Regions from separate parts of the Homo sapiens genome. Here region 1 is linked to region 2. Evidence: promoter capture Hi-C in 16 types of primary human blood cells and fetal thymus (Javierre and others, 2016). All regions are on one chromosome and are shown on one strand. The core of a region is centred on a gene start or on the middle of the fragment in contact, and the rest is flanking DNA. Distances in the headings are between cores, read along the strand shown. Region 1 overlaps SPON1 (spondin 1). Region 2 holds the start of SPON1 (spondin 1).

Evidence for each region. The method cuts DNA at HindIII sites, captures the fragments that hold promoters and counts their contacts. A CHiCAGO score of 5 or more calls a contact.
Region 1: a fragment that was not itself captured here is called in contact with the fragment with the promoter of SPON1 in region 2 in 1 of 17 cell types (M2 macrophages); the score reaches 5.8 in M2 macrophages.

The regions. Positions count from the first base shown.
Region 1 is chr11:14,209,684-14,214,539 of GRCh38, forward strand. The region is part of intron 6 of SPON1 (spondin 1); the gene reads left to right. Among named protein-coding and RNA genes, the nearest start is that of RRAS2, 150 kb to the right of the region's middle. The HindIII fragment of the contact is 2,148 bases long and covers 2,268-4,415 here.
Region 2 is chr11:13,960,978-13,965,527 of GRCh38, forward strand. SPON1 (spondin 1) reads left to right here and starts at 1,746. Exons shown (of 16, transcript NM_006108.4): 1 at 1,746-2,165. The coding sequence starts at 1,928. LOC124902637 (a long non-coding RNA gene) reads left to right here and starts at 2,180. Exons shown (of 2, transcript XR_007062602.1): 1 at 2,180-4,068. The HindIII fragment of the contact is 7,695 bases long and covers 763-4,550 here.

The DNA.
Region 1 (4,856 bases), core at 2,092-4,591, 250 kb after region 2:
CAAGTCTTTGCTATCATAAATAGTGCTGCAATAAACATGTGTGTGCATGTGTCTTTATAGTAGAATGATTTATAATCCTTTGGGTATATACCCAGTAATGGATTGCTGGGTCAAATGGTATTTCTAGTTCTAGGTCCTTGAGGAATTGCCACACTGTGTTCCACAATAGTTGAACTAATTTATACTCCCACCAACACTGTAAAAGCATTCCTATTTCTCCACATCCTCTCCAGCATCTGTTGTTTCCTGACTTTTTAATGATCACCATTCTAACTGGCATGAGATGGTATCTCATTGTGGTTTTGATTTGCATTTCTCTAATGACCAGCGATGATGGGCTTTTTTTCGTATGTTTGTTGGCCATGTAAATGTCTTCTTCTGAGAAGTGTCTGTTCATATTCTTTGCCCACTTTTTGATGGGGTTGTTTGTATTTTTCTTGTAAATTTGTTTAAATTCCTTGTAGATTCTGGATATTAGACCTTTGTCAGATGGATAGATTGCAAAAATTCTCTCCCATTCTGTAGGTTGCCTGTTCACTCTGATGGTAGTTTCTTTTGCTGTGCAGAAGCTCTTTAGTTTAATTAGATCTCATTTGTCAGTTTTGGCTTTTGTTGCCATTGCTTTTGGTGTTTTTCTCATGAAGTCTTTGCCCATGCCTATGTCCTGAATAGTATAGGTTTTCTTTTTCCTTTTTTTTTTTTTTTGTTTTTTGTTTTTTGTGTTTGTTTTTGTCGAAGTCTCACTCTGTTGCCCAAGCAAGCTGGAGTGCAGTGGCACAATCTCAGCTCACTGCAACCTCCACCACCCGGGTTCAAGCGATTCTCCTGCCTCAGCCTCCCGAGTAGCTGGGACTTACAGGCACAAGCCACCATGCCTGGCTAATTTTTATAGTTTTAGTAGAGATGAGGTTTCACTATGTTGACCAAGCTGGTCTCAATCTCCTGACCTCGTGATCCACCCACCTTGGCCTCCCAAAGTGCTAGGAGGATTACAGGCATGAGCCACCGCACCCGGGCATCTAGGTTTTCTTCTAGGGTTTTGATGGTTTTAGGTCTTATATTTAAGTCTTTGATCTATCTTGAGTTAATTTTTGTATAAGGTGTAAGGAAGGGGTCCAGTTTCAGTTTTCTGCATATGGCTAGCCAGTTTTCCCAACACCATTTATTAAATAGGAAATCCTTTCCCCGTTGCTTGTTTTTGTCAGGTTTGTCAAAGATCAGATTGTTGTAGATGTGTGGCATTATTTCTGAGGCCTCTGTTCTGTTCCATTGGTCTATATATCTGTTTTGATACCAGTACCATGCTGTTTTGGTTACTGTAGACTTGTAGTATAGTTTGAAGTCAGGTAGTGTGATGCCTCTGGCTTTGTTCTTTTTCCTTAGGATTGTCTTGGCTATACGGGCTCTTTTTAGGTTCCATATGAAATTTAAAGAAGTTCTGGCCAGGGCAATCAGGCAAGAGAAAGAAATAAAGGGTATTCAACTAGGAAAAGAGGAAGTCAAATTGTCTGTGTTTGCAGATGACATGATTGTGTATTTAGAAAACCCCATCGTCTCAGCCCAAAATCTCCTTAAACTGAGAAGCAACTTCAGCAAAGTCTCAGGATACAAAATCAGTGTGCAAAAATCACAAGCATTCCTGTACACCAATAACAGACAAACAGAAAGCCAAATCATGAGCGAACTCCCATTCACAATTGCTACAAAGAGAATAAAATACCTAGGAATACAACTTACAAGGGATGTGAAGGACCTCTTCAAGGAGAACTACAAACCACTGCTCAAGGAAATAAGAGAGGACACAAACAAGTGGAAAAACATTCCATGCTCATGGATAGGAAGAATCAATATCATGAAAATGGCCATACTGCCCAAAGTAATTTGTAGATTCAGTGCTATCCCCATCAAGCTACCACTGACTTTCTTCACAGAATTAGCATCTTATATTCTTATATTATTATACGTGTAGTTTTCTAGGGGTTTACTGCTTGTGTATAATAATGTATATAGTAATGTAGTATATATGAAAACATGGTGTATAGTAATATATTGGGCATAGTAATGCTACTGACCTTTGAATTTTAATACCAAACTGTCCTCTTTCTAAACTGGTTGATTTAGTTCCAGGTGTACAGCAAATTCTTTGTAAATATTTTTTCTTCTTTCCCAGTAATTATTGTCCTTTAAGTCTTTTGCAGTTTGTCTAAAGCAATATTATGTTATAATAGTAGCTATATTATTTTCAGGGGCCAATTTTTGAAAAAAAAAGCTTTTAATCTTAATCCATTATTGATTCATTATTTAAAATAGGTATCTTTATCAAGTTAAGGTAGTAAATAGTATCACTCCAAGTAAAGGTTTTATCAATTTTTCTTTTGACATATATTGAAATAGATTATGTCATCTAATGTTAATATAATGTTAGTCTTTTATTGATTTTTTTTTTTTGCATTTCTTTAGTAACCTTCCTTAAGATCAAATTTGTCACACAGAATAATTAGATGGAGTCCGGCCTTGTCTGTGCTTTGATGCAGTCAGCATAGCTTGGGAATTATCTGTTCCTTGTGAGCTTGGAGGAATCCATTAGATCTGTATGCCTTGCTTTTTGGGGATATTCTGAATTTTTAAAAAATTTCTACCTCCATTACTGCTTTAATAGGGTTTCCTACCTCATTGCGTCATTTTTAAATATAAGATTGAATTAAAATCATATATGTTTATTATAAAATATCATCCATTTGTTCAGGTTTTCAGTCAGTTAGCATATAATTAGACATAGTATTCCATATAAGTGGTTTAATTCCTTTTGCTACTGAATATATTGAGTCAGACCTGAATTCTCATCCAGGTTCCACCACTGATTCATGTGACTTTAACCAAGTAACTTGACTTCTATCATCATTTCCCTATAAATAGGGGTCATATTACTTAGAGTATAGGATTGCTGTGAGGATTACAGATGATGTATATGAAGTTCTTAGCACAGTGCCTGTCCTCACTAAGTAGAAGATATTACACTGTTCTCTTTCCTAATGCTGTTTGTCTCCTTTTTTGCTGTTCTTTAATTATATTTGCATGGGTTGTCTATTTTTCATAGTCTTTCCAGTATTTTCAGAAGCAACATATAAGCAATGGGGAGCCACTGAAGGAAAGAGTACCAACTCTGATAATCGAATGTCTGAGCATCATTTGTGGGTGGATCATCAAAAGATGGGTCTATGCTGTGAGAAATGACAGAATTGACAAGAGGCCATCTAGACTCTTCTTGCCAAGCAAAATGTGGAAGTGTAGTCCTTATATTCATAGTCAGTAAACACAGTCTCCAGAGCTTGGGAGAGACTCTTTTAAGGGCTTCTGAGAGTGGGAAATTGACCAGGCCCCCAGTTGTCCTGTGCCTGCATCCAAGCCTTTAGGGCCTGGAAACAGAGATGCTGACAAACACCATGACCCAGACTGAACCCAGCTTTTCAATGGGACAACAAAATGAGCTTTGTTCATCCTTTTGAAATGGAGCCCAATTATGTTTGATTAATAAATGAAACTCTGTGTCCAAATAGGAGAGACACTGTAGAAAAAATGGTCAGAAAACACTTTGTGTAAGAAAAGGCTGATGAAGTTTTCATCAGAGGGCTTTCATTTGCCTGGAGCTAGTCTCAGACAGAGAGAAATGTTCAGCTTCCAAATCCTTCTCTTGTTTCTCATTCCTTTTTTTTTTTTCTTAAATATGTTTAACTCTCCTGCTTAAGATTTATTTTGGGCTCCTTAGCGATGGATTTGTGTTTATTGTGTCATTTAAAGAAAAATGCACTATTAAAAACACTCCTAATCCATTTATAAATGTCAACAGAAAAACAAGTCAAAGGTTGACAATAGTAATTAATCAAACGATATTTATTGAGCACTTTCTATGTACAAAGCACTTTCTATGTACAAAGCTATATGCTATTAAGTAAGAATAGGAAACAGTCTCCAGCCTCAAGAGTCCTTCAGTTGAGCTGAGGAAATAGCCAAATAATTGACTAGCTATAATACAAGGGAAATGGAAATAAATATTAAAGTCAGTACATAAGCCACGCTGTACTGAAGTACATATCCCAGGGATGGATTAGCAAGGACTTCATGAGCAAGTTGCATTTGGGTTGCATCTTGAAATGTAAGCAGGCTTTTTTATAAGGATGTGTTCTCTTAGATTTTTAGGTGAGCCAGCCAATGCACCTATGTATTATGCCCCAGATGTCAGCAAACACAAGCAACTATTCTAAGCTAGTCCATCAAACCCATGTGTGCACACAAGCACACAATCATGTTGTTCCCAGGTCACCTATGGTTACTTTCCTATTCCTCATTGCATTTGTCCCATCCAAATGCTTACTCCCAAACATGCCTCTGAACCTCTTCAATTTGATGACCTCCAAAGCTTAGCTTCTTAAATCTGGTCCTTTTTACATGGTTTTTGGTTTTGCTTCCTTCCTTAAGTTTTAGCCTTTCACTCCATGTTGTCCTGGGGAAAGAACTCTCGGCTCTGGTCCTCTGCGCGTAGGGCCCCCATCCCTAGCCGGATCAAATCTTGGAATGAGGAAGCGTTGGAAGAATTCCCTGTGTTATCCACCCAGGAGTTGTGTAGGTAATACAGGTTCTCCTCCACTCCCTGGCCCCAAGTAAGATGATGCTTCAGAATAAAAACATGCCCTTGCATAGATAGGTGGTTCCCTTCACAGCTGGCTCCTTACCAGAATGGAGAACAGTCCTGCTAGCATGGGGTTCAGAGTCTTCCTGTGTGTGCATCTTTCCAAAGATATTAAGAGGAGAAAAAGATCCAAGTGAATTTCCAGGTTTCTCCAACACTTTAAACTATA
Region 2 (4,550 bases), core at 496-2,995:
AATTTTTGTTCCGTCTTCTACCTACCGGTCAGCACAGAGTCTAGCTCCAAATCTACACTTAATGAAAGTTTGCTGGATGAATGGGACCGTGCAACTTGGAGTGCAGCATGAGCTCTGAGCCAGTCGAGTGAAGATGCAGACAATTCCCTCAGCACTCAGACATGGATCTGAGCCTCACCTCAAAAAGGAGGGCCGATCAGCTGGATCAGGTGCTGCTAGGGTCAAGAAGGGCTAGGGATGAGAGAAGAGCATAATTGGCTTCAGCAAGGGGTTACTTTCAGGTGACCTCTGAGAGAAGGCGTCCAGTTAATAGTGGCAGTGGGAATTCCAGCACAAGCACTAAGGAGTAAGTGGGCAGGCAGGGAGGAATGGAGATCTCCCATGCACCTAGCGCCCTGGGCCTGTTTGTAGCATTATGAAAGAGAAAACCCTGACCTGGAAAGCAAAGGAGATTGCTTGCTAATTGTAGGCACTTGAGGTGTGTCGAAGGCCCTGGGCAAAGAGAAGACGAGGAAACCAAAGCTTCTGAGGGCACCTGGGGAGGGATGTTTGTGTGCACTGAGAGGCAGGGGGCTTATGGTATCCCCAAGCGGGTGAGGGAGCAGGCGCCACTAGAGACCAACTAGAGTGTTTTATATGGGTCATATCATTTACTTCTAGCATATCACCCCACTACCTCTAAGAAGGATGTACTGGCACCCACCCCCACTTCCTTGTTCTCCAGAGCAGGAAACAAGCTTGGAGAGTGCGATAACTAGCCCAAGCTTCACAATGGGTGAGTGGCAGGACTGAGGTTTGATTCGGGTCTCTTCCCAGAGAGACACTGGGAGAGATTCTTGCCCCAGGTCTTTTCCCTTCAGGCCCTCAGGCTCAGCACCTCTCTGAACATCTGTCCCTGGGGAGTGAGAATCTGAACTAAAATGTAAGCCAAGAAAACACAGGCTCTTCATTGAATCTTTGGAAACTCCTTTCCTGGGCTGTAGGAGGACCTTCCTGAGCCTTAGGCACTTTTGCCTTTGCTGGCTCTTTCCTCCAAGTCAAGCATATTTTATGACTGTGGAGGTATAAATACAAATATATTAACATTATATAGTAAAACATTTTGTTTGACATAAATTTTTTCTTCTGATTTTTACAGAAAACATTTTCATAGATCTCCAAAAGTATCGTGGGCCCTAAGCGCTGTAGCTAAGTCGTTTCTCCTTTCTCAGCCTCCAGTCTGACATGTTCCACTATGGCCTTGGGAAGAGCAATGGGCCCGGAGTCGCCGCATCTAACCCTGCTGTAACTGGTCGCAAGTCACAGTTTGCTCATCTATAAAGTGAGCGAAAGTAATGTAATCTTTATTGGGAGTAGGGAACATGAAGGCGAGTCGATACAGTAAGTAAGCCGCCAAGCATATTGCTAGGCACAGAGCAGGTGTGCAACAAAAGTTATTTCTCAGGCTTTCCCTCCTCTGAGCGCCGTCCTCCAGAGGGTCCGGAGTGTAGCTGGGGGTTGGAGCAGCAGCCTCCTAGGCGATGGGACAGAGCCCACAGGGTCCGGTATGCCACGGTTTCTTCGTCAGACCCTGGGAATCCAACGTCGCAAAATAAACACGGCCGCGCCGCTAATCGCCAGTTCGGAGGAAACAAAACAGCGCTGCGCTGGGGGATCTGGGCAAAATCAGCCCTCCCTCCTCCCGCTCCTTCGCCGCGGCCCTCCCCTCCTCGCGCTGCTCTCGTTCGCTTGGCTCAGCTCAGCTCAGCTCAGCGCAGCTCCGCGGCCGCCAAGCCGAGGCGGGCACGGTCTCCGAGTCGCGGACGCCAGCTCCGAGCTCCCTCTCTCCGCCGCGCCTCCGCCAGGTCGCGCCTTCGTCGGGACCACTTCGGGCAGGAGTCGCGTGGCGAAGGCCTGCGGCCGCGGCACAAAGTTGGGGGCCGCGAAGATGAGGCTGTCCCCGGCGCCCCTGAAGCTGAGCCGGACTCCGGCACTGCTGGCCCTGGCGCTGCCCCTGGCCGCGGCGCTGGCCTTCTCCGACGAGACCCTGGACAAAGTGCCCAAGTCAGAGGGCTACTGCAGCCGTATCCTGCGCGCCCAGGGCACGCGGCGCGAGGGCTACACCGAGTTCAGCCTCCGCGTGGAGGGCGACCCCGACTTCTACAAGCCGGGAACCAGCTACCGCGGTAAGTGGCCGCCCGGCGTGGCATTAGGAGAGCGGGACCCGGTCCCCGGAGGGCGCCGACCTCGCGGTGCCGGAGGAGGGCGCGCGGTCTCCGGGCGCGTGGCGCGGGTGCAGCCCGGCAAGGGCCCTTCTGTCCTGGCTGCCCTCGGCCCTTGCAGTCGCGAGCTCGGCGCGGATCATAATCCAGCGTCCCGGGCCGTCGCGGGGGCCGCAGCCAGGAGAGGCACCCCGCGTTTCCGACGCGCGGTTCCCAGGCGGAGGATGTAACTGAGCCACACGTCACGCCGGCCTGACTGCAAGGGAGGCTCGCTTCTCCCCCGGCCGTCTGCAGGAGGGAAGTAAAACTGCCTTTCTCCAAATCGGTCTGGAGGGGACCCAGGCTTCTCTTGGTCGGGTCCCGGGCAAGGCAGCCACTCCAGCTTTCCCCGCTCAGTCCCTGAAGGAGAGGGTACCCGATTCTCAAAGACTGGCCCTGGGCGGGACAGCCACTCCGGCTTCCCTGGATAGGTCCCTTCAGGAGAAGGGACTTTGGCTTCTCCCTAACCGGTCCCGGGGTGCGGGAAGGAGGGGCAGGGACAGCCTAAAGCTCCTCGAAAGGGTCCTTGGAAAGAACCCCAAATTATTCTCTCGTGGTCCCAGACGAGATAGAGTATCTTGGGTTTCCAGAACAGGTTCCCAGTGGGGACAGGGTCCTCAAAGAGCTTGGGGTAAGCTCCGAGCTGCAAGGGGAATTGGATGAAGATGGAAAGAGAAGCCCCGATGCCCGAGGCCTGCTCCCTGGAGGCCGGGGAACCTTGGCTCCGGCAGCTCGGAGTCTCCACGTCCCAGGGATGTCGCGCCTACGCCGCTCGGCTGAGAGTGGGGTTTCGGGAGCTCAGGGAGGAGGTGTCCAAGCAGGTGAGAGCCTCCTAGGCGGGACAGGCAGTTCGACCAGCACCGATCTGAAGACGCCTGACTCTGTCCCCACGCCCGCCACCTCGCTCCTCAGCAGGGTCATCTCCCCAGACATCGTTTCCCCGTGCAGCAGCAGCCGCTCTCCGGGTGGGGGACAGGTAACCAGGAAGGGAAGCGAGCCTGTCTGGCCTCACCTTAGCTCCCGCCAGGGAGCGTGTCCTCTCACCCTCGCCCCTTCATAAGTCAGCTCTGGTGCTAAGCAGGGATGAGCGGGTCACTGGGGCACCTGGTGGGGCAAATGGGCTCCCAGCTGCTGTACTTTCCTCCTCGCCTTCCCAGTTCCCCAGAGAGCCTTGGACGGAAGCGGTGGGAGCAACACAGGAGAAAGTCTGGGGCAGCGTCAGCGGGCGCCAGGGTCACGCCGGAGACCAAAGCCAGGGGCCACCCTTCTTGGAGCGCTTTTCCCCCTTTCCCGGGTTTGTGTCCCCGACTTTCTCCACCCGGAGCTACCCAAAGCCGGCTCCTTGGTGCCCTTGGCACCTTGGCGTGCTGAGCACTTTGCGAGGAACAGTCTGACCCCGGCGCGCAGCTCCGCGGGATCCTGGGTACTCCACGAAGAAAGATTCTGGGCGGAGAACACCCCGCCCAGCCCGGGAGGGAGCGCGCGGCTTGGCACCGCGGCTAGAGCGAGCCGCGCCGACGGGCGGCGACTGCCACTCGGTGCAGCCGGGAGGCGGCCGATCCTCCCTGTGGACCGCAGGGAAGCGGGTATGACTTCAGTGGCCTATTCGGCCCTCCCCAAAACTGAGGACCTGAGTTCACAGGGGAAACTGTCCCCGCTCCACGTAGCAGAGAAAGAAGTGGCTCTGGAGTCCAACAGACTTGGGTTTACTCGCTGTGTGACCTTGTGCAAGTCATTTAATTTCTCTGCACCTATTTCCTAGCTGGAAAAAAAAAAAAGCTGTTTATCCACCCTCTCTTGGTGGTAGGGAGTAAATGAGTTTACAAAGGTGAGTGTGCCTGAGCTAAAAGAGATTCCTAATAAGCCTAACAGTTGAATGTGAGGCCTTTATTGGTTTACTAATGGAGGTAGGTTCTTGATCAGATTTTTGTTTTTGAAGAGTGTTGTGCGTTTGAAAGCAGGTTTCCTCAGCTCTCCTCCAGTCCCATTCATCTACCAGTGGTTATTTGGGTCCTCATGAATTAATTGAATGAATGAATGAGGTATTTTTTCATATCAGGAGCCTTGCCTAAGACTGTTGCTAATGCAAGCCCAGGAAGATTTTTTCAGTGACTTAGACTAGTCTGAGGTTCAGGCCAAGTGTACCCAGCGTCTCTTTTCACACTAATCCTCCGTGTTTTAGTTGAGCATTGGCAGCTGGTGGCCCTAGCACTGGGAAGGAGATACAGCTGGTATTCACGGGGCCAAAGAGGTTTCAGAACTACCTAAACGTCCAGGGCCAGCAGGTGGGGAACTGGGACTGGATAGGGA